7 separate regions of the Homo sapiens genome follow, and regions 2, 3, 4, 5, 6 and 7 are each linked to region 1. The links are contacts of gene promoters, found by promoter capture Hi-C in blood cells and fetal thymus (Javierre and others, 2016). All regions are on one chromosome and are shown on one strand. The core of a region is centred on a gene start or on the middle of the fragment in contact, and the rest is flanking DNA. Distances in the headings are between cores, read along the strand shown.

What was found. The method cuts DNA at HindIII sites, captures the fragments that hold promoters and counts their contacts. A CHiCAGO score of 5 or more calls a contact.
Region 2: a contact is called between a fragment that was not itself captured here and the fragment with the promoter of RRP15 in region 1, in 1 of 17 cell types (naive CD8 T cells). The highest score is 5.2, in naive CD8 T cells.
Region 3: a contact is called between the fragment with the promoter of BPNT1 here and the fragment with the promoter of RRP15 in region 1, in 3 of 17 cell types (total B cells, naive B cells and activated CD4 T cells). The highest score is 7.8, in total B cells.
Region 4: a fragment that was not itself captured here is called in contact with the fragment with the promoter of RRP15 in region 1 in 1 of 17 cell types (total CD4 T cells); the score reaches 5.7 in total CD4 T cells.
Region 5: a contact is called between the fragment with the promoter of EPRS1 here and the fragment with the promoter of RRP15 in region 1, in 6 of 17 cell types (total CD4 T cells, monocytes, total CD8 T cells and 3 more). The highest score is 12.2, in total CD4 T cells.
Region 6: a contact is called between a fragment that was not itself captured here and the fragment with the promoter of RRP15 in region 1, in 1 of 17 cell types (non-activated CD4 T cells). The highest score is 5.3, in non-activated CD4 T cells.
Region 7: a fragment that was not itself captured here is called in contact with the fragment with the promoter of RRP15 in region 1 in 1 of 17 cell types (total CD4 T cells); the score reaches 5.7 in total CD4 T cells.

Annotation. Positions count from the first base shown.
Region 1 is chr1:218,283,843-218,287,035 of GRCh38, reverse strand. RRP15 (ribosomal RNA processing 15 homolog) reads right to left here and starts at 1,743. Exons shown (of 5, transcript NM_016052.4): 1 at 1,581-1,743. The coding sequence starts at 1,719. RefSeq lists enhancers at 1,486-1,765, 2,296-2,365. The HindIII fragment of the contact is 12,027 bases long and covers 1-3,193 here.
Region 2 is chr1:220,113,054-220,116,246 of GRCh38, reverse strand. It overlaps IARS2 (isoleucyl-tRNA synthetase 2, mitochondrial), which reads right to left. Exons shown (of 23, transcript NM_018060.4): 12 at 1,773-1,933. Among named protein-coding and RNA genes, the nearest start is that of MIR215, 3.3 kb to the left of the region's middle. RefSeq lists an enhancer at 1,405-1,574. The HindIII fragment of the contact is 1,017 bases long and covers 1,245-2,261 here.
Region 3 is chr1:220,088,355-220,091,547 of GRCh38, reverse strand. BPNT1 (3'(2'), 5'-bisphosphate nucleotidase 1) reads left to right here and starts at 1,760. Exons shown (of 9, transcript NM_006085.6): 1 at 1,760-1,862. RefSeq lists an enhancer at 1,460-1,649. The HindIII fragment of the contact is 18,631 bases long and covers 1-3,193 here.
Region 4 is chr1:220,065,667-220,068,859 of GRCh38, reverse strand. BPNT1 (3'(2'), 5'-bisphosphate nucleotidase 1) reads left to right here. Exons shown (of 9, transcript NM_006085.6): 6 at 1,467-1,558. Among named protein-coding and RNA genes, the nearest start is that of EPRS1, 21 kb to the right of the region's middle. The HindIII fragment of the contact is 1,434 bases long and covers 945-2,378 here.
Region 5 is chr1:220,044,831-220,048,023 of GRCh38, reverse strand. It overlaps EPRS1 (glutamyl-prolyl-tRNA synthetase 1), which reads left to right and starts at 1,519. Exons shown (of 32, transcript NM_004446.3): 1 at 1,519-1,681. The coding sequence starts at 1,636. RefSeq lists enhancers at 1,308-1,377, 1,438-1,767, 1,809-2,366. The HindIII fragment of the contact is 10,455 bases long and covers 1-3,193 here.
Region 6 is chr1:220,028,304-220,031,496 of GRCh38, reverse strand. EPRS1 (glutamyl-prolyl-tRNA synthetase 1) reads left to right here. Exons shown (of 32, transcript NM_004446.3): 6 at 1,017-1,111. Among named protein-coding and RNA genes, the nearest start is that of EPRS1, 17 kb to the left of the region's middle. The HindIII fragment of the contact is 607 bases long and covers 1,163-1,769 here.
Region 7 is chr1:219,976,871-219,980,063 of GRCh38, reverse strand. It overlaps EPRS1 (glutamyl-prolyl-tRNA synthetase 1), which reads left to right. Exons shown (of 32, transcript NM_004446.3): 27 at 449-646; 28 at 1,345-1,518. Among named protein-coding and RNA genes, the nearest start is that of SLC30A10, 50 kb to the right of the region's middle. The HindIII fragment of the contact is 197 bases long and covers 1,534-1,730 here.

The DNA.
Region 1 (3,193 bases), core at 494-2,993:
GTTGCAGTGAGCCCTGTTTGTGCCACTGCACTCTAGCCTGGGTGGCAAAGCAAGACCCTGTCTCAAAAAGAAAAAGAAAAATCCAATTTGTAAGCAGTACTGACATTTTGCTCCAAATATAGCAAATATAGTACTCTTCCCTTCTTGAACAATAGTGTTTGAACTAGTCTAATGAATTTAAAAAATATCAGAACCAGAAGTTCTAATTTTGGCCCAACAAATAGTTTGTTTTCCTTAACAATGTGGCAGGAGATGAAGACTCTAATTACCTAGGAATTGCAGTAGCATATGACACTTTCTTCTTGGTCCTGGAAGTCCAGGTTAATTCATTCATTTACTTAAATATCTGTGAAGGACCCACAAGGCAATAGGAACTGGGGATACAGTAGGCTCTATTTTTATGGAACTTATATTCCAATTGGGAAAGCAGCAAATACATACATCAAATGGTTTGGGCAGGGTTGAGAAAAAATAAAGCAGGGCAATAAGTCAAAAAGTGAAGAAAAGAAGGCAGGAAGAAGAGTAGTGGTGGTACGTTACATAGGGTAGTCAGGGACAAGTCTCTCTGGTAAGGCACTGGATCAGAGGCTGGTGAGGGAGAGACATGCCAAGCATTTGAAAACTATTCTAGGCAGCGGAGCCAACAAATGAAGAAACCATGGTGTGGGAGCATGTTTAAGGTGTTAAACACAAGCATACCGGTATGGCATGATTACAGTTAGTGGTTTGTGAGGGGCATATTGGCCTATGACAGACAACCTGGCCCAAATCATACAGCCTAAGGATTTTGGATATTATATACTGAGATGAGAAGCCACTGGATCATCTCAAACAGACAGCGGGCATAATTAGAAATACGTTATAAAAGAATAGCTCTGTCTGTTTTTTGGGTATCAGCTGGTACAAAGGAGCAATAACTGGGCAGTAGGAAGTCAGGGATTACCTGCAATTCCTTGTAACCTAATAAGCTGGTGCCAAGAATGATGGTAAAGAGGAGCAACAGACACAGCATGGTTGAAAGCCTCAAAAACACATCCTTCCTTCCTTTTATTATCAAGCGTCTCTGAGAGACATAGTTATCAAACACTACCAGTTTTTAATCGACCTTAACCACCAAACTCTTCTTTCATTCACTATTATTTAGTCTCTAAAACACGCACACATCTACCGCACAAAAAGTCAAGTACACCCCCTTCTTCCTCTTACCTCTTTTAACCTTTTGCTTCTTACACCCTATGAGACCCATTCTTCTCCTGTTTTCAAGTACCCTCTTCCTTTCACCCTTTGCTACTGTAAGTTTCTCGGTAGCTGCAGGTGTTTCACCCATTTTATTATAATTAATAATGGTGACCCTGAAAATACCTAGTAAAAGAATGTGGAAACTCAAAATTACAGTTGACAGCGTTACTTCTCTGAACACGACTTCCCCAAGCCTCCTCACTAAGCCAAAGTCGCCCCTCTGAAGTGGTGCCAAGATAAAACCCAGGTGGCTAGCAGCAAATGAAGTCGCAAGCGCTGCTTGACACGAACTCAGCCCCGCCTTTCCTCCCAGACACCAAAGCTCAGCCCTACCACATTACCTTCACTATCAGAAGTGTCTGTGGCCTCGTCTTCCAGCACCGACGCTACGGCTCCAGTTACCATTTTCATCTTCTTCTTTGGGGTCTTTTTCAGGTTTTCTTCCTCACTCACACGTGAGTCCGGAGCGGCGGCTGCCATTTTTCTGCGCCGGAAGCGTCACCTGACAGTTGCGTCCGGTGGCAACCAGAGGAACTTCTGCATTTAGTGCCGGTAACACAAGGTTCCGGGGCGGGGTCGTCTAGCCCAGAGTTCCGGGGCCGGAGCCTCAGAATGTGACTTGGAGAGAGCTCTGAATGGCTCGGTGTGTTTACGCGAAGTCCGTTCCAGGACGAAAATCAGCGGCTGAATGGCCTCAGCCGACTCCTCCGCTAGCTCGCCTGTGCCCTGGTCCTCCGCCCCAGTGCGTCCCCAGCCCGTCCCCAGCCCAGCGCGGTCCACTTTGATTTCCTAGCCTCGGCGGCTTCCCTTGTCTGCTGCCTTAATGTTGGTTTAGTGTCCTCCTCAGGTGTCTCTTACGTGCCCACTGAACGCCGCAGCAGCTAGGACGCGGGACAGATCCACTGGGGGCCGATAATTAGAATACGATCGTATCATCCCCCCGCCCAAGATAACACGCGAGACCTTTCTTGCAAACCGAATAGACTCACCTTCTTTCCCTGGGGCGGGTGTTGAATCCAACCGCACCCTTCTCCCTCGGACCCGGCTGGGGCCTGGAGGGTTTCTGGCGCCCGACTGCGCAGTGCAGACCGAGGGTGCGAATACCTTGCTATCCGCGCGAGGATCCTGCCTCCCACCCGGGGCTAGCTTTTCTCTGAAGTTAGCCTCTGTCACCAGCTCCTAGTTCCATCGAAGCACCTACCACAGTCGGCCTTCATTTTCCCCCCTAAAATGTTGGCTTCTCGCAGGAGGGGAACGTATTTCATTTACCATGTCCCCTCAAGGTTAGCAACAGAAGTTGGCCTGAAGTGAATTTTCCAAAAATATTTTTGGAAGGGATGAATGAATCAATGAATGAGTGACAGAATATAACTATTGACAAAGTTAATGACTCAGATGGATAATGCAGCAAACCTTTACTGGCTAGACTTGTTCTAAAGGCTTTCCCCAAACTTAGCGTTTTCCCTTTCCCCTCTTAAGGAGGTTCATAGATTGTGATACCCATAAGTCAAAAACAAAAACAAGAATCCTCATTTTGACATATTCCAGTAGATGTTTATGTAGGAAATAAATATATATTCACATCCTAAAAACTCAATACAACATTTTTAAACTTGGTTTTTAATTTTTTTGTCTTTTAAGAGAGAGAGGGTCTAGCCGGGTGCGGTGGCTCACACCTGTAATCCCAGCACTTTGGGAGGCTGAGATAAGTGGATCGCTTGAGTCCAGGAGTTTGAGAACAGCCTGGCCAACATGGTGAAACCCCATCTCTACTAAAAATACACAAATTAGCCAAACGCAGTGACGAGTGCCTGTAGTCCCAGTTACTCGGGAGGCTGAAGCAGGAGAATCGCTTGAACCTTGGAGGCGGAGGTTGCAGTGAGCGGAGATCGCGACTCTGCACTCCAGCCTCGGCGACAGAGCGAGACTCTGTCTCAAAAACAAACAAACAAAA
Region 2 (3,193 bases), core at 504-3,003, 1.8 Mb before region 1:
AGTGCTTGACAATGTGTTCTGTTTTGTTTCGTTCTGAAGAGACAGTGTCTTGCTCTGTCATCCAGGCTGGAGTGCATTGGCATGATCATAGCTCACTATAACCTCAAACTCCTGGACTTGAGCGATCCTCTCGCCTTAGCCTCCCAAGTCGCTGGGACTACAGGCCCACACTACCACACCAGCTAATTTTTAAATTTTTCTGTAGAGATGGGGTCTCACTGTAATCTTGAACAGCTGGCTTCAAGCAATCCTGCCGCCTTGGCCTCCCAAAGTGCTGGGATTACAGGCATGAGCCACTGTGCCCACATAACAATGTTTCTTAAGTGAATACATGAATAGCTCATCATCTATGGAATACTGTGCTTTACACCAAGTAGTTTGCATTTATTATTTAGTATTCATAACAGTCTACCTGCAACCATTGCTTTTCCTATTTTATAGAGGAGCCAGAGGCTAAGTAAATTCCTCAGTCTCACACACAGTGAATGGCAAAGCCTGGGTTCAAATTCAGTTGCCATTCTCCAAAGCTCACAGATTTCCAAGCAACTTCTCTTTCGAAAAGCACAAAAGGGAGCTGTTCGGGATAAAAGAATTATTCTAAGACACAATTATGATAGTGGCTGTAAAACTTAACAAATTTACTATAAATCACTTATAATAAATGAATTTTTCTTTTTTAATTTTTTTGAGATAGAGTCTCACTCTGTCACCCAGGCTGGAGTCCAGTGGCACGATCTTGGCTCACTGCAACCTCTGCCTCCCAGGTTCAAGCAGTTCTCTGCCTGAGCCTTCGGAGTAGCTGAGATTACAGGCCCGCGCCACCATGCCTGGCTAATTTTTGTATTTTCGGTAGAGATGGAGTTTCACCATCTTGGCCAGGCTGGTCTTGAACTCCTGACCTCATGATACACCAGCCTCGGCCTCCCAAAGGGCTGGGATTACAGGCGTGAGCCACCGCACCTGGCCATGAATTTTATAGTATGTAAAGTATGCTTTAATAAAGCTTAAGAATGAGGCTGATCTATGTGTAGTGATTTGGAATAAATCATAACACATAAAGTGAAAAAAATCTAGGCACAGAGCAGAAGATAGAGATACTCTCTTTTGTATAAACATATGTATGTGCTGACAGAAGAATTCATTTTTTCTGGAAAGATTCAGAAACAGCTGTAAACAATGACTGCCTCAAAAAAAGGTTCTGGATACCTGGAGTAGGAAAAAGCCTACTTTTCAGTGTACAAGCTTTTCTACTATGAATTGTTCACTATGTCCATCTATTACCTTTCCAACTCAAAAAAAAAAAAAGGGAAAAACTGGGAATATAATCATCAGTGTAATCATGTGCATTTAACTACAATTTCTTAAATTTTAAGTATCTACACAATTACATAATCCCATTTCCACTGAAAAGGAAAGCAGACTCAGAATGTGAGAGTGATTCTCTTCATTCCTTTAGAAAAAATACATTTCAGGCTCCCCTGCTAAACACTGTCCATCTTTGGATCCATGATACCTTAATACAGCCCAATAAATTCTCATAGAAAAAAAGTCAGAGACTTTACTTCTAAGTATCAATATTTAAGAAAATCTAGTTAATATTTTAACTGTATGATAGAATTGTTTTGAACTTATATTTTAGTCCCCCAAAAGACTATTTTAGCATATTTTATTTAACATATATAAACGGTTCTTAATCATCCACATTATTTTTCAATTTTTGAAGAAAAAATATTTCACTTTAAAACACTAAAAAATTTTAGAAAGCATTCTACCTGTTGATCAAGTATTCATCCTTGGTCTTATGATGAAACACAGGAATTGGAACACCCCAAACTCTTTGCCTTGATATACACCAATATGGCCGCCTGTCCATCATTTCAACCATGCCATTCAGTGCTGATCCAGGAATAAATTTCACCTTTTTTAACAATTCCTGCAATTAATTCATAAATCAAGTCTTGTGAGAGAAAGCAGAACAAGTATTCTAGAACAGTCAATTTTCCAAATGCATTTGTTTCTTTTGGATGTTTGTAGCCATTCACATACCTCCCTTACCCTCCCCTCAAAAAAACAACTAAAGAACTAAAAGATTTCAGAGCAAATAAGGCAAAGTAAAAATGGAGCCGCGAAGAACTTAATAAATAATATCGGGAGCAGTGATAATATCAGGAGCATTGTTGCATTTTTTAACAATGTTACAAAAGATTTCATACCAATTTCTAATTTACACCAACCCTAGATCAAAACTGGTAATAAAAGCTTTCATAGAACTATTATACTTCACTAAACTATAGTTAAAATCAATTCAAACTTGATTTCCACCATTTTTTAAAATGCTTAAAAAATAAATTACTATCGTAGACTGCCAAAAAAAGATTGCGATATACCTAATTTTACATAATATAGTTTACAACACAGAAAACACTTTCTCAAAATAAGCCCAAGTATGTGGTTCAAACCTGTAATCCCAGCATTTTGGTAGGCTGAGGTGGGAGGATCACTTGAGCCCAAGAGTTCAAGGTTGCAGTGAGCTATGAGCATGGCAGTGCACTCCAACCTGGGCGACAGAGCAAGAGCCTGTCTCTAAAATAAATCTCTCTCTCTCTCTATATATATATATCTATCGACAAATGGCTAACAGTTACTTCCTCTCAAGAAAGCTCCCTTCCTCCATTCCCAAAATAAGGTTGAAAACTGCTACCATTTGATTTAATTTGTCAACTAGCAAAAGATTAACTGTATAGCAAAAATGTTTACTAATAGTCTCCAAAAAGGTCAAAATGTTAACTTCATTTTAAAAAATCTTTCTATCCATTAATAAAAGCATTTTTACATTTTCAAAGAAGGTTTAAATGGTTTCCTCACTCACCGTAACTACCAGAAGTCCCCTCCCACAAAGCTCTCTGTAGCACCACCTATTGGCAGAATGGCAAAATCTCTACAAATCAATTTGATTAATACCATACTTGGTTTAAAAGTCTAAGAAATGTGAATATTGAATAGATATTTGATTTTGCTAAGGAATAACTATTACTTTTTAAAGGTGGTGATAATGGCATGGGAATTATGCTTTAAAGAGTTTGGCCGAGCATGGTGGCTCACGTCTGTAATCCCAGCACTTTGGGAGGCTGAGGAGGGCGGATCACCCGAGCTCAGGAGTTCAAGACCAGCCTGGCCAACATGGAGAAACTCC
Region 3 (3,193 bases), core at 511-3,010, 1.8 Mb before region 1:
AGCTATAGTCTTCCAGGAGCACAAAGATATATTTACATAGAAACTCTCCTAACCAACCTCTACATAACTTGCTGAATTCAACTATGCCGTTTTCTCGTAAAACCTATGAGAGGATACAATGAACACTTGGGAGATGGCTACTCTTTAGGATGACTGCAGATTTCTATTCTCACTTGTTGAGCTTACCTTGCATTATGTTTGTCTTTATTTAAGCCATTTGTACTTGTCATGTAATTATACAATTTAATTATAAAAACCAAAGTATGGCCAGGTGCAGTGGCTCATGCCTGTAATCTCAGCACTTTGGGAGGCCGAGGCGGGCGGATCATGAGGTCAGGAGTTCGAGACCAGCCTGGCCAACATGGTGAAACCCCGTCTTTACTAAAAAAAAAAAAAATGCAAAAACTAGCTGGGCTGGGTGGTGTGCGCCTGTAGTCCCAGTTACTCAGGAGGCTGAAGCAGGAGAATAGCTTGAACCCTGGGAGGCAGAGGTTGCAGTGAGCCGAGATCAAGCCATTGCACTCCAGCCTGGGCGACAGAGTAAGACGCCGTCTCAAAAAATATATATATGTATATATGTGTGTGTGTGTGTGTGTGTATATATATATATATATATATATATATATATATATATATGGTTAAAGTAATATAATTTAAGTTATGTATATTTTTCCACTTCCCAAAAAGGGTCTACTTAACTCACAGAGTTATTGTGAAAATCAAATGAAGACGTAAAAGCCTTTTTAAGCTGGGCGCAGTGGCTCACACCTGTAATCCCAGCACTTTGGGAGGCCGAGGTGAGCAGATCACCTGGGGTCAGGAGTTCAAGACCAGCCTGGCCAATATGATGAAACCCCGTCTCTACTTAAAAAACAAACAAAATTAGCCCGGCGTGGTGGCGCGCCTGTAGTCCTAGCTACTTGGGAGGCTAAGGAGGAAGGATCGCTTGAACCCAGGAGGAGGAGGTTGTAGTGAACCTAGACTGCGCCACTGCACTCCAGCCTGGGCGACAGGATGAGACACTGCCCCCTTCCCCAACCACGCCCCCCAGTAAAAGATCCCATCTGTACACAAAAAATATTTTAATTAGCTGGGTGTGGTGGCGCGCACCTCCACCAGTAGTCCCAGCTACACGGAAGGCTGAGGCGGGAGGATGGCTTGAGCCTAGAAGTGGGAAGGCAGCAGTGAGCCGTAATCGACTCTGGGCGACAGAGCAAGCTATCTATCGCTTAAAAAAAAAAAAAAAAAAAAAAAAAAAAAGGTAAGCAAGCATCTTTGACACAATTCTGCATAAAGTTGCTGTGTTATTGCGTGGGGAGTGGGAGGTGGAGGTGTGTGTGGTGGACCTGCTGAAGCCTGTCCACGGACCGCTAGGGGTTCGAAGTTAAATAGCCGCAGAGTGGTATCACTAATACAAAGAACATTTTAAAACAGTGAACTCTACGAAGTGGGCTGGAAGACAGCTGAAACCAAAACCAATCTTTTTTTTGTTTCAACACACTGTTGCTGGCTTAATGTGTTCTTTCCTTCTTCTTTTTCTTTTTTTAGCCAATCTTTGAAAGTTGACACATCTTTCGCTTTTATTTAATGCAACAGGTGACTTGCACCTACGGAGAGCTTGGAGAAAACACGGACAAGTGGAATTTTCCCGCGGATCAGGAGTCTAAAGAGGCAGTGTGAAATCGCTGTTGTGCGCTTGCGCGCAGTTTCCCGCATGCTCAGTAGCTGAGGTAGGGATGCCATCCTTCTCAAAAGACTTATTGACAGTGCCAAAGCTCGGTACTGGACACAACGAGGGACCTGGGTCTACGATAACGCGCTTTTGCTCCTCCTGAAGTGTCTTTGGTCCAACGTTGTTCCAGGTTTGTCACCGTTTCTCTCCGGCCGGTCAGGGCAAGAGCCAGGTAGATAGGATTTATGTTAAAAAAATAAAACGAAAAAGGTTTATGTGAATCAGATTGCTTCTCCAGATATTCTAACTTCCGACTTGGACTCTTGAGTGTCGATATTTTAATTGTTTATCTGTGCTTTTATTTTCGTGATCCGGAAGGTTTTTATAGCCATATACTGTAGAAACAAGACAAACCTAGACATTGAGTTTGTTGATGCACCCAAATTTAGAAACTGCTTGGTACCTAAAATTAAATTTCTTTAAACAGCAAATATTCTTCCAACTGCCATTTCTACATATTTATAGGTTTGCGTGATTTATTTGGATTTCTCTGTAAATATAATTGTTGGTTCAAAAGATACGTACTTTATACTTTTATTAAGGTTCTCAAAACTCTCCTAAGAGGGTTCACCGCTTTGCCAACAATGCTCAGGAACATGTTCCCTCACACCCTTGCAAACTGGACAAAGGACAAACTCTTCTTCTTTCTTCTTTTTTCTTCTTCTTCTTCCTCCTCCTTCCTCCTCCTTCTTTTTTTTTTTTTTTTTTTTTTTTCGAGACGGAGTCTCGCTCTGTCGCCCAGGCTTGAGTGCAGTGGTGCAATCTCGGCTCACTGCAAGCTCCACCTCCCAGGTTCACGCCATTCTCCTGCCTCAGCCTCCCGAGTAGCTGGGACTACAGGCGCCCACCACCAAGCCTGGCTAATTTTTTTTGTATTTTTAGTAGAGACGGGGTTTCACCGTGTTAGTCAGGATGGTTTCGATCTCCTGACCTCGTGATCTGCCCGTCTCGGCCTCCCAAAGTGCTGGGATTACAGGCGTGAGCCACCGCGCCCAGCCTTTCTTTCTTTCTTTTTTTTTTTTTTTTAAGACAGGTTCTAGCTCTGTCCCCCAGGCTGGAGTACAGTGGTGCCATTATGTCTCACTGCAACCTTGACCTCCCAGGGTCTGGTGATTCTCCCACCTCAGCCTCCCGAGCAGCTGGGACTACAGGCATGTGCCACCACACCATCTAATTTTTGCATTTTTTTGTAGAGACGAGGTTTTGCCATGTTGCCCAGGCTGGTCTCGAACTCCTGAGCTCAAGCAATACACCAGCCTTGGCCTCCCAAAAAGTTCTAGGATTACGGGTGTGAGCCACTGCATTCAGCGACAATTTTTTTTTTTTTTTTTTTTTTTGAGTCGGAGTCTCTGTCGCCCAGGCTGGACTGCAGTGGCGCGATCTCGGCTCACCACAACCTCTGCCTCCTATGTTCAAGCAATTTTCCTGCCTCAGCCTCCTGAGTAATTTTTGTATTACTAT
Region 4 (3,193 bases), core at 412-2,911, 1.8 Mb before region 1:
AATGTAGGAATGAACAAGCTCAGAGCCAGAGTTTTAGGTTTTGTTTTTTCTATTAGACAGTCTTGCTCATTGCCCAGGCTAGAGTGCAGTGGCACCATCTCGGCTCACTGCAACCTCTGCCTCCCAGGTTCAAGCTGTTCTCCTGCCTCACCTCCCAAGTAGCGGGGATTACAGGCACCTGCCACCACGCCCAGCTAATTTTTGTATTTTTAGGAGAGATGGGGTTTCACCATGTTGGTCAGGCTGGTCTTGAACTCCTGACCTCAGGTGATCCACTCACCTGGGCCTCCCAAAGTGCTGGGATTACAGGTGTGAGCCACCGCACCTGGTAGGTTTTAGGTTTTAAGCTTAGAGTTTTATTTTTAAACTTAAGATCTAGGCCAGGCGTGGTGGCTTATGCCTGTAATCCCAGCACTTTGGGAGGCCGAGGTGGGCAGATAATTAGGTCGGAAGTTCAAGACCAGCCTGGCCAACATGGTGAAACACCTTCTCTCCTAAAAATACAAAAATTAGCTGGGCCTGGTGGCACACGTCTGTAATCCCAGCTACTTGTGGGGCTGAGGCAGGAGAATTGCTTGAATCCAGAAGACAGAGGTTGCAGTGAGCTGAGATCATGCCACTGCACTCCAGCCTGGGTGACAGAGCAAGACTCTGTTTCAAAAAAAGAAAATAAGAATAATAATGATGATGATGATGATAAAATTAAATTAAGGTCTACATAAATTTTCTTGTATTGGCTCTCAGGACATGGCTTAAAAAATTTATCATAATTACTAGAAAAAAACTATTTTACTGTTCTTGAATGAGACATCGCTATAATGGGTGAATCACAGTGTGTGTATACATGTGTATGTATGTGTGTGTGCTGAAAACATCTGTAGAACCCATTGTGAAATAAGGAAGCTCTAGACAACTTTAATGTGTATAAAAGCACCTAGAAAGCTTATTTAGGTCTTGTCCCCCACTCTCAGATTTTGATTCACTAGTTCTGGGAAGGAGCCTGAGAAGATCTGTATTATAAAAAGTACATCAGTTAATTCTAATGCTGCTTGATAGTCCTTGGGCCTCCCTTTGAGAAACTCTGTTTTAAAGGCTTGAAATACAAGTCTAGAGTGTAATCCAGGAATATAAAGTGATTCGGCAGGTAAGGATGAGTTGGATGATGGTGGAAGAGGCACAGAGGAATCTGATGATGATGGCTGCAAAATTATGGCTGCTTTATTTAGTTGGTTTACACATTGTACTAATGAGACCATGATAGCCAATTCAATTAAGTGGCCATAGATCCTATGGCTGTTTCTGGCCAGCTTATCATTTATGCCTTTCACTATAAATAGGATTGATCACGGATGAATCATTGCAAATTCCATACCTTAACTGCAAAACTAACTTGGAGCAATTGATGTAGTAATGATGAGTCATAATATGAGCAAGTTATATAACTGATATTTATTTCTTCTTTGCAGGTCTTCTTGACAATGTAACAGTTCTTATTGGAATTGCTTATGAAGGAAAAGCCATAGCAGGAGTTATTAACCAGCCATATTACAACTATGAGGTATTACTATAAATGATACAAAGTAATTTCATTAGATAAATAATTATAGTGTTATCTGATTCTTTATGTTACCTAAGCAAGTGGTTTTTAGCTTGGTTGCATATGCAATCATCTGGGGAACTTTTCATTTTTTAAATTTTATTTATTTATTTATTTATTTTTAACTTTTTTTTTAGCTATGCTATTAACTGATGAGAAACCTTTAAAAATACGGATTCCCAGGCCATACCCCAGACCTACTGAATCAAAATCGCTGGGGGCATTGGTACTGGGTATGTATATATATGCATGTGTATGTACACAGACCCACTAAATGCATTATATATTTTTTAATTTATTCCTTATGATTCAAATATAAATGTTGAGAGAATTACTGATAGGGTTCTTGATTAGCTTGGGCATCAAGACACCTGATTTATGATTGGTTCCTGAAGCACATTCAAGAAATGAACCATTTCAACTAAGAAAAGATGCTAGGCCTGTTGTTTTCCAGGTAACGCTGTGTAGCGCCTAAGTTACAGTCAGTGTTGGTAACAGAACGTACTATGCTCTTGCATTCTTTTTTCTTGTCTCTTCTAATCTGCTTTGATTTTCTATTATACATCAGATAAATTGCCTTCCATAGAAGCAAGGGACTAGTGTAATTTCAAAGCAAGAATTTACCATTAAATTGCATTAAATTGTATAGGAAATTGTTGAGATAAAGTAGTTAAGGTATTTATATTAATGTGACCTTGATAGAACTTTAGAGAAACAAAGTAATCAGAGTGGGCAATACTACTTCTGAATTTCCACTCTGAGTTAAAAGCAAGGTTAAGCTTTATTTCTAATATAAATTTGTTTTTTCCTGCTGTTTGTATGATTATAAATTATATTAAGAATCGTGTTTCTTAGGATTTACCAAAAGAGTTATATGTTATTGAGAAAGTCTCTGGGGTTAAATTGCTTGTGTCTATTAATTCTTTAAATATGATTTTAATGTTGATACTGTTATATACAGACATAAGTTTGTGGTTTTTATGTAAACTTTAAGTTAATACTATTACTTTCAAAAGGGGCATTTAATTCATATAAAGCATTGTAATGCACGGTACCTTTCATCAAGAAAAAATCTAAGTGCTTAGGAGTTAATAATTTTCACCACTTCTTTCTGAGATTAGAAAAATTGTATTCATTTTCCACAGAACAATGAAAAACAGCAGTTAAGGGAACACAGGAATGAAGCAAAGGTGAGAAAAATAGCTAGGGTTTTGGCTCCACTAGTAGGTAGAAAAGAAGCAGGCAACTTGTGGTACCCCAGGTGGTCATTGTACATCCCACATACCAGTTCATTTTCTCCAGTTCTGCTTCTCTTCATTACCTCTCTCTGTACCACTTCCCTTCTGGACACTCTGTTTATCCTTTCTCTTGCTTCTCTTGCTTATGCCTTAAAATTCATTACCACAAATGGAAGTAGAAAAGTTGCTCAGCTGTGTTGGTGGTATTCAGGCTAAAGATTCAATTTTAAATAATAATCATCATCACCATAATAGCTAAAATTTATTAAGAGTTTACTGTATGCTGCCAGGTTCAAGGGTTTCAAATGTATCCTTTCATTGAATACTAACCACAGCCCTTTAAATAAACTATTATCCC
Region 5 (3,193 bases), core at 270-2,769, 1.8 Mb before region 1:
TGTGGTTGAGATGGTTCTTGGAATCCATCCCGGGTCCCCGTACTTTAACACCAGCCCTTGAAATATGGGTGCAGCTCACACACACGAATGTGTGTATACACCTTGGAGTATCTCTGGAGCTCATGCATGCACGTCCGTCACAAAGGATTTGAAAGGGAGAATCAGATGAGACGCTGAAAAAAACACCTGTGGACTCCATGATTGGGGGCGGCATCGGAGGGTTTTTTTGTTTTGTTTTTTAGATCAGGTCTCTCCCTGTGTCGGCCAGGCTGGAGGGTAGTGGCTACTCACAGGCAAGTCCACGGCGAGGCCACTACAGCCTCATCTTCCTGGGCTCAGGCGATCCTGCCTCAGCCTTCTTAATAGCTGAGACTACAGGAGCGCGCCACTGCGCCTATCTGCAGTGATTTTTTGTTTGTTTTGAAACGGGGTCTCAGTCTGTCGCCCAGGCTGGAGTGCAGTGCCGCGATCTCGGCTCACCGCAACCTCCTCCTCCCGGGTTCAAGCGATTCTCCTGCCTCAGCTCCCCAAGTAGCTAGGATTAAAGGTGCGCGCTACCATTCCCGGCTAATTTTTGTACTTTTAGTAGAGACCCCCGTCTCTACAGTTTCACCATGTTGGTGAAGCTGGTCTCCAACTCCTGACCTCGAGATCCGCTCGCCTCCGGCCTCCCAAAGTGCTGGGATTACAGGCCTGAGCCACCGCGCCCGGCCTCTGCTGTGATTTTTTTTTTTTTTCTTTTCGAGAAGGAGTCTCACTCTGTCGCCCAGGCTGGATGCAGTAGCACGATCTCGGCTCACTGCAACCTCCACCTCCCAGGTTCAAGCGATTCTCCTGCCTCAGCCTCCCAAGTAGCTGGGATTACAGGGGCCCACCACCATGCCAGGCTAATTTTTGTATTTTTAGTAGAGATGGGGTTTCACCATGCTGGCCAGACTGGTCTCGAACTCCTGACCTCAGGTGATCCGCCCGCCTACACCTTCTAAAGTGCTGAGATTACAGGCGTGAGCCACCACGCCCGGCCTGCAGTGATTTTTAAAGAGTCTTTTATATTTCCTTTAACCATTATTTTCAACACGCAAATAACTCTTGAAAATACGTTCTTGTTTTGGAAAAAAAAAAACGGGGGGGAATGTATAAAATAAACAACGAGAAAAACTTCTCCCATTCCCAACGTAATCATGGCTATCGTGTGTATGCTTCCAGGACTTTTCTTTTTACATAAAGACAGTGCATGCTTTTGTTTCGTGCTTCACATAAACGCCTATCCCATCTTAAAGATGGTTTTACAACCTGCTGTTTTACGACCTGCTGACTTGACGAAGTGTCGTAAAGTCCCGTCCACTTCAGCGTCTTTCCCACCGCAGCACGAAAGGCCACGCAGGCCGTTCTAACCCTGGCGGCCAAGAGGAGGGGTAGCAGGCTCTGGAACCTGCGGGCGGGGACGAAGACGGCGCGCGACGATGTCGCACCGCGGCGTGCGCGGTGTCGGCAGTAGCTGCGGCGCAGGGGCGGAGCGAAGGCTGCGGCGGCGTCGGGTACGCGCACACGTTGCATCTTCTTCCTTTCGCGGGGTCCTCCGTAGTTCTGGCACGAGCCAGGCGTACTGACAGGTGGACCAGCGGACTGGTGGAGATGGCGACGCTCTCTCTGACCGTGAATTCAGGAGACCCTCCGCTAGGTAAGGGGCCGAGACCAATGACCTGTGTGGGTTGCATCAGCCAGGGAGGGTGCAGGGCGTGGAAGGTCGCTGCGCCCCGGCTTTGCGCAGTGGTGGTCACCATCTGGGATGTTGGACCTGCCCCTCGCCCCAGAATTGTACGTGGAGGAGGCTCCGCACCCCTCGCCCCGTGTCCCCGGCAGGTGCATCTGCTCCTGAAGATGGTTTTCCCGGGCATGGAGGGAGGCGCAGTGTGAGCCCGGGCTAGACAACACGAGACTCCGCTTCGGATCTTTTTCTCAGAGGGATGAACTCCCAGTCAACTCACCTCTCCCTTTTTCCCCCGGAGAGCGAGAGTTGCTCGTGGAAATAAGATTTTAAAACTTAAAATCCAATAGTCGTCGCTTCTCTTTTAGCATTTTTCCCCCAACTCCTTTTCTTACCTCCTTTCCTGTCCTGTCCCTCCTCTCAGGAGAAATCCTCAGTTCACTTGAGTCAAATTTTCCTTACGTTTTATCGAGTTCAGAAGAAATAACCCAGACGAGCATATTAGCATTTAGGATTTCAACTGAGGCTGCATTTATTTTTAATTAAATGTGGTAGGGTAATTGGGGAAAACACCCAGGTACACTGTAGACTGATGCGGTTGCTTTTACTGCACCCTGTGGATGTGTAGTAAATTTCAGAGTAAACATTGGATCTGTCACCTTACTGACACATCTTAAGTTCTGTTTGGAATTATTTTTTCGACATGACCAAGATTATTGTTGGTAGATTGCTTAGAATTTCTGCTTTTTCATTACTTTGGGAAATTACACAGAAGAATTTAAGTAGTTTGCCGATTTTTTTTTTTCTTTTGAGAGTCAGGGTCTTGCTCTATCGTCCAGGCTGGAGTGCAGTGGCGCTTTCAAGGCTCACTGCAGCATCGAACTTCCGGGCTCAGATGATCCTCCCACCTCAGCCTCCTTAGTAGCTGGGACTACAGGCGCGTGCCACCATGCCTGGCTAATTTTGTGTTTGTGTCTTTTTTGGAAAGATGGCGTTTCACTGTGTTGCCCAGGCAGGTCTCAAACTCCTGGGCTCAAGCCATCCTGACTTGGCCTCCCAAAGTACTAGGATTACAGGCGTGAGCCACAGTACCCAGCCTGACCTAATATTTGTTAATGCATATGTATGATAATACACACACAGTACTTTCTAATGTTGAAGAAGCCCATACCTTTATATACAGTTGACCACGTGGGGCTGATGAAATTATTCATTATATTCTCAACTTTGGTGATGTTTTAAGGTTGTTGAACAAAAACACAACTTAATAGCCATTTTAAACATTTAAAAGATGGTAATGTTTTGGCATATTGGTTGCAGTAATGGACTAACCGCACAACAAATCAATGAACTCTAAAAGGAATGGGTTTGATTCCTGAGCTGGAAAGGCATTAGAGTGCCTTCATGATTGAGAGCAAAGACATTTGGTTTCTGCAGACCTGAGTCCAATCCTGGCTGCCACTTACTAGTTGTGAAACCTTGACA
Region 6 (3,193 bases), core at 217-2,716, 1.7 Mb before region 1:
CCTGTTATGACTTCTCATGTGTGTAGATTTGTTTTCTGTCCATCTTCAGTGCTACTGCACTTTGTTGAGGCCTAATTTTTCCTTGCTTGGTTTAATACCATAATCTCATAACTAAACTTCCTTTTGTCTCATCTTTCTCTAGTTCAGGGTATCACTTTAGAAAACACAAATCCACGGTCCTATTATCCCTGAGGACTGACTCCTCATTGCCTAAAACTTAAAAGCCAAACTTAAAAGGTCCTCTGTGTTTTTGACTTAATCTATTTCGGCTTCCTTCCCTACCCACCCAATATGCATTCCTAACTTTTCATGGACATTGCACTACTTTTTCCTGCCTTTGTGCCTTACCTACTCTGTTATTTATTTACTTAGAATGAATACCCCATATACTTTTTTTTTTTTTTTTGAGACAGAGTTTTGCTCGTCACCCAGGCTGGAGTGCAGTGGCATGATCTCGGCTCACTGCAGCCTCCGTCTCCCAGGTTCAAGCGATTCTCCTGCCTCAGCTTCCTGAGTAGCTGGGACTACAGGTGCACGCCGCCAGGCCCAGCTAATTTTTGCATTTTTAGTAGAGATGGGGTTTCACCATGTTAGCCAGTCTGGTCTCAAACTTCTGACCTCAAGTGATCTGCCATCCTCGGCCTCCCAAAGTGCTGGGATTACAGGCATGAACCACCGTGCCTAGCATCCCATATACTCCATCTGATACATTTCTACTTATCTTCGAGGTCCAGCTTGGTTCTTAACTGCTTTTAAGCTTTTCCTGATAAACCTAGGTATTGCTGATTAATTTCAACTGAGTGCCCTAACAGCACCCTGAACATATCTGTATTACTGGTATTTGGTTTTATTTATATTCTTAACCAGATTTTGTACCCTCAAGTGTAGGGATGATGTTCTAGTCATCATATTTTTCATAACCAGTGTGTGTAGTGCCTGGCACATTTGTTGAATGAGTGTGTTCTTAGACATTTAACCATAAGACTTTTTGTTGTGATGGTGGTTGTGTTTTTCAGGCACCTGAGAAAAAGCAAGATGTTGGGAAATTTGTTGAGCTTCCAGGTGCGGAGATGGGAAAGGTTACCGTCAGATTTCCTCCAGAGGCCAGTGGGTAAGAAAATGTAACTCACATTTATAATTGAATATATTTAGTGGGAAAGCTTTAAAACAGTGATTAAATACTTAAAGTATTAATAGGTTAATAATATAGAAGAACATAAGATTTTAATTGTGAGAGTTAAAATTCTAAACGTTTTAACAGTTTTTATGTTATTAATAGTTAATGTTGATTTAATTTGTAGTTTTAGTTTGTCAACTTAGTAAAAGAGACATTTTAGTTTTATCCTGACAGAACTTTAATTATGTAATTAACAAAATATCCAAAAATAAGAAACCTTAAATTTCATTTTTATTTTTAGATTTTTGGGCTTTCATTTAATTGGATTTGTATTTGTACCCTGAGCAATCCTTTTAATTAGCAGTTGAAGTTATAATAGTATTGGTCTTTAAGTTATTTTTTTTCCCCAAGTGAAGGGGAGTCCTGAAAAGCCTGTTCCTATTCCTTTCTTTCCATTAGGTTTCCCAACCCCTTCATCTCTTGGCACCCATGGAAAGTAGTATTTGAATAGCTCATTAGAGAAAAAGACTGTTCTGTATGGTGATCACCAGGCTGGGGCTGCTTCAGCCCTTGCCCACCATTCCCCAAGGCTGAGAAGGAAGTCTTTGTCTTTGCACACCTGTCATCCTATTTGAAGTATACTGGACAAGCTTTATAATAGCGTCCTTCCAATGATGTTAATATAATAAAATACCTCTTATTAAAGCAGTTAGCCTCACTTAGAAAATTAACCATTAGGAAAATGTTCTGCCATGTTTTGTAATTGAGGTGATTATTTTTTCCAAATTTAAGATTTCCAAATTTAATTTTTTCAGATTTTGTATTCTATCACCATAATGAAGTTCTCACCTTTCTATAGTACACAGTAGAAACTGGAAGATACAGAAACAATTTTCTTTTAGCGATGTATTTAATACTTCTTCACAAACTATTTCATAAGCATCATTAACAGTAAAATTGCTTTTAGAATTTCACATTTTGTCTCTGCTTTTCTATGTTTGCTGATTCAGGAGGTGAAATAAAGGGTAGATAGAAGGAGATGAAACAGAAGTGATGACTGTGGAAAATTCACAGACTTGATCGTTAAATGGTTGATTGGTAATTGACTAAGTGGATTCAGGCATAAATAATACTTACCTTACATGGTTTAATATCTATAGACATCTTGGGTTCCTACCATCTAGTATTCTGCTACTGTGCACTTGGTATGAGAGGTCATGATTGTCCTGTTGGATAGTGACCTTGATCGTCTAAAAGCCACCTTTTTTTGGCAGTGGCCATTTTTAGCTGCGCCACTTGAACATTTGTCTTTTTTAAATCTTTTCATATTTTGCGTCACTGTCACTTCTGGGAATAGTGAGTTCCCCATGTTTGTATATTTACAGTATAATATATATTTACCTGTTGTAAATTATGTCAGAGACTACGCTCATGAGACAGTTTTGGGGTCAGGAATATAAATCAGTATTTAGTTTTTTTTACTATGCATAGTTTTCATCATCTCTTCTTGTACTGTTAAAGAGTTTTTCTTTAATTACTATTTTTTCATTTTTTCTTTTCTGTGTCTTAAATGAAAGGCCAGAAGGCTTGGCTTAGTCTTTTATTCTTATTCTTAGCTAACATATACATAGCACCTATTATGTACAGGTGCTACCACATGCTTTACTTATAGTAACTTATTAATCCCAACAGCCTTCTGAGGAGGCACTGTTGTTATCTCTGTTTTACAAATGGTTTCGGAAACAGATTCATATGTTGTAGTAACTTGCCAAGCTCAAACCTCTACCATCTGGCTCTAGAATCCATATAATTAAAAATTGTACTACATGTATCTGTTAACATATGGCAGAAGCCCAATTCAGCATCAGTTCTAACTCATGCAGCATGATTCTTTTGTGTGTGTGTGTGTGTGCGCGTGTGTGTGTGTTTTAGCGATTCTGATATAGAGTCACTCTTTAACTGATGATTTTAGTTGTCTTGTGACTTATAGTCCTCTTAGCTTTCTTGAGGTTTGGAATTGTTAGACCTGCAGATTTAGAAATAACATTTTTGAAATAATGTTTTGATCTCATCACC
Region 7 (3,193 bases), core at 383-2,882, 1.7 Mb before region 1:
TTCGTAGGTCACTGTAAGCACAGTCCATGGACAGATCCAATAATTTCTTCTGTCATCACAGAAGTAGACTCTTAAAAAATAAGTGTTTCATGTACTTTCGTATAATAATTTCAAACAAATCTATCCCATTCCTCTGTCTCCATGGTTCGTTAAGTCATAGTATGTATCCTGAATTACTACTAAAATATGAATTCCTTTTTAACTGTTGTAGGTAAAATTACTGCTATAAAAGGGGCTGCCCAGAGCAAAATGCTTGTAAATAGTATTTTTTGACTAATCTTAATCTCTTATTATGGTAATTATGCTTATAATTAAAAACCTTATTTAATGTAAAAAAAGGGAGAAAAAAAGTGTAGTGCCATTTTAAAGCATGTGATCTTATAGTAATCATTTTCAAGGGCATAATAGGTTATTAAAAATGAAGCTTATTTTTCTCTCTCTATTTTAGGGAGGAACATCACATCATTTAGGGCAGAATTTTTCCAAAATGTTTGAAATCGTTTTTGAAGATCCAAAGATACCAGGAGAGAAGCAATTTGCCTATCAAAACTCCTGGGGCCTGACAACTCGAACTATTGGTGTTATGACCATGGTTCATGGGGACAACATGGGTTTAGTATTACCACCCCGTGTAGCATGTGTTCAGGTAAGGAAAATATTCCTGTTTATCACTCATTTTATAAAATACAAGCCATATTTACTAAAGGAAATTTGAAAGGGTGATTTTCTGAATATCATTCAGGCAGATTTCTCTGATAATAAAAACAACGTGGAATGCAGTCTGGACCCTAGTGTTTTGTGACTGTGTGTATTATTTATTTATTGTTTCTTACTCTTTTAATTTTTAAGCTACTTATATAAACATTTTTAGAAGTCATTTTTTAAAAACGGTTTATAGTATGTTAAATGAGCTGGGCATGCAGGCTCACGCCTGTAATCCCAGCACTGTGGGACGCCAAGGCGGGCAGATTGCTTGAGCCCAGGAGTTTGAGACTAAGCCTGGGCAACATGGCAAAATCTAGTCTACAAAAAATTAGCCAGGTGTGGTGGCATGCACTGATAGTCCCAGCTACTTGGGAGGCTGGGGGGGAAAAAAAAATATATATATATATATATACACACACATATGAAAAATAGATTAAGTGAAATATAGTGGGTCAGATGAAAATGCATTTAGCACGGGTAAGTGATTTGCAGGTAATTAGTAGACATTATATATAAGATTAGAAATCACACAGCTGATTCGTGTTAATAATATAGCCACTGGTAGGTTTCGACTTCTGAGAGCTCATTACTTCTATATCTGTTTCTTTGCATACATTTGGGACATTGTGCTGATTCTAGGTGGTGATTATTCCTTGTGGCATTACCAATGCACTTTCTGAAGAAGACAAAGAAGCGCTGATTGCAAAATGCAATGATTATCGAAGGCGATTACTCAGTGTTAACATCCGCGTTAGAGCTGATTTACGAGATAATTATTCTCCAGGTTGGAAATTCAATCACTGGGAGCTCAAGGTAAATTCCTAAGCTTTATCTTTTACCCCCAACATCTGCAATTTGAGTTTAGATTTTCCTCTGCATGTTTTTATAAAACGAGGTTTCTCATTACTTTCCTCTATTTTGATAGTTGTGAGTTTTCTTCTTCTTCACTTAAACTGTTGAGCACTGACACAGTTCATAGCTTTGCAATAGTGATACCTAAATTTAAAATAGTTTTTGTGGAAGCTTATTTTTATTATGTTAGAATAAAAACGATCTCGAGCGCTTGTTTATGATTACCCTCACGTAACTAGTATACTAAAATGTTTATGCCAGGAATTCATAAAATAAATAAGTTATTTACATAGACCACCAGAATAACAGTACATGGACATCACTTAGCTGTGTTTGTTATAGCTAATAGTGAAACATCTGAGATTAATTTTATTCTTGAGTTTTCACACCACATTGTTTCATACCAGTTTGTTGATTTTTATTTTGTTTATTAAAGCCAGTCTAAATTCTGCTTTATTGTTTGTAATATAACTTTCATGTATTGCACATTGTCATTAATAGATTATCTGTGGCCTTAATTCTGATTTATAAACTTACAACATTTTTTTCTTATGCTGAAAGAGGGAATCTTACTGGATCTAGAAATTAGGAATCGAGACTATATAAATTGATATTATAGGTGACAGTATGAGAGAATGTATTGAGATTGCAGCTGCATGCTTTCAAACTATGGAAGCTCAGCAATATTGGGATTTTTAGGTATTTATACATCTAGGGTTCCCAAAGTTGCTAATATTTATCATCTTATTTGTTTCACATTGCCCCTGAGGTAAATTTCCTGTGCTGAGGAATGGTAATTATATTGATAATTGTTTCCCTTTTATGTAATATACCAGCTTCTTTATATGCTTTTCTAAACATGATTTTTTTTCCATGTCATTTCCTTTTTAATTGCACTCCTTTTTGCTTACTTATAAATAGCTATTGTGTGATGCCAGTAGCAGTTTCTCTAAACTAATTTCTACTTAACCTGGGCTATAAAATGTTAAAGGAGAAATTTACTGCTGGCTACTAGCGGGATTAAAAAGAAAAAACCATCCACGTTCATTCCTGAATTCTTTGTACCCTTTCCTCTTTTATTCATTTCTCATCCTTAGACTGACTTGGCTTTGTCTTTGTCACTCTTCTTTTAGTACTCTAGTGAGCCTATACTATGCTGGGGAGGTATTCTTAGTATGAGTTGGGTCTTCTACAGCTTCGTTGTCTGTATTCCTCAGGAAAGAAAATAAAGCACCTAAGTTCTAAACTTGACGCCTCAAGTTAAAGAACATTGAGAAAGAGAGTTCACTATCTAGTGAAGGTATTAGTTATACTTTTTAATGCCATTTTAATTCCATTTAGTCAAAGAATTTCTAAGAAAAAATATTTTAGGAGATCTGGATTTATATTTATTTGACAGCGATTGACCAAAGTGTGTGAGCGATGTGTACGCGCATTTTGAAACTTATTCAGATTAATAAATGAGCTATAATATTGTTTGATTGTGAGGCCAGAACCCAGCAACTCCTGTAATTCTTCTTTGGTACCCCTTCCTATATTATGAAAGTATAAAGGGGAAAATAATCTGAGTGAATTAACTACTTTTCTTTTTACTATGTGGAAAGAGTAAGATAATTCTGTGTTGCTATAGAAACAA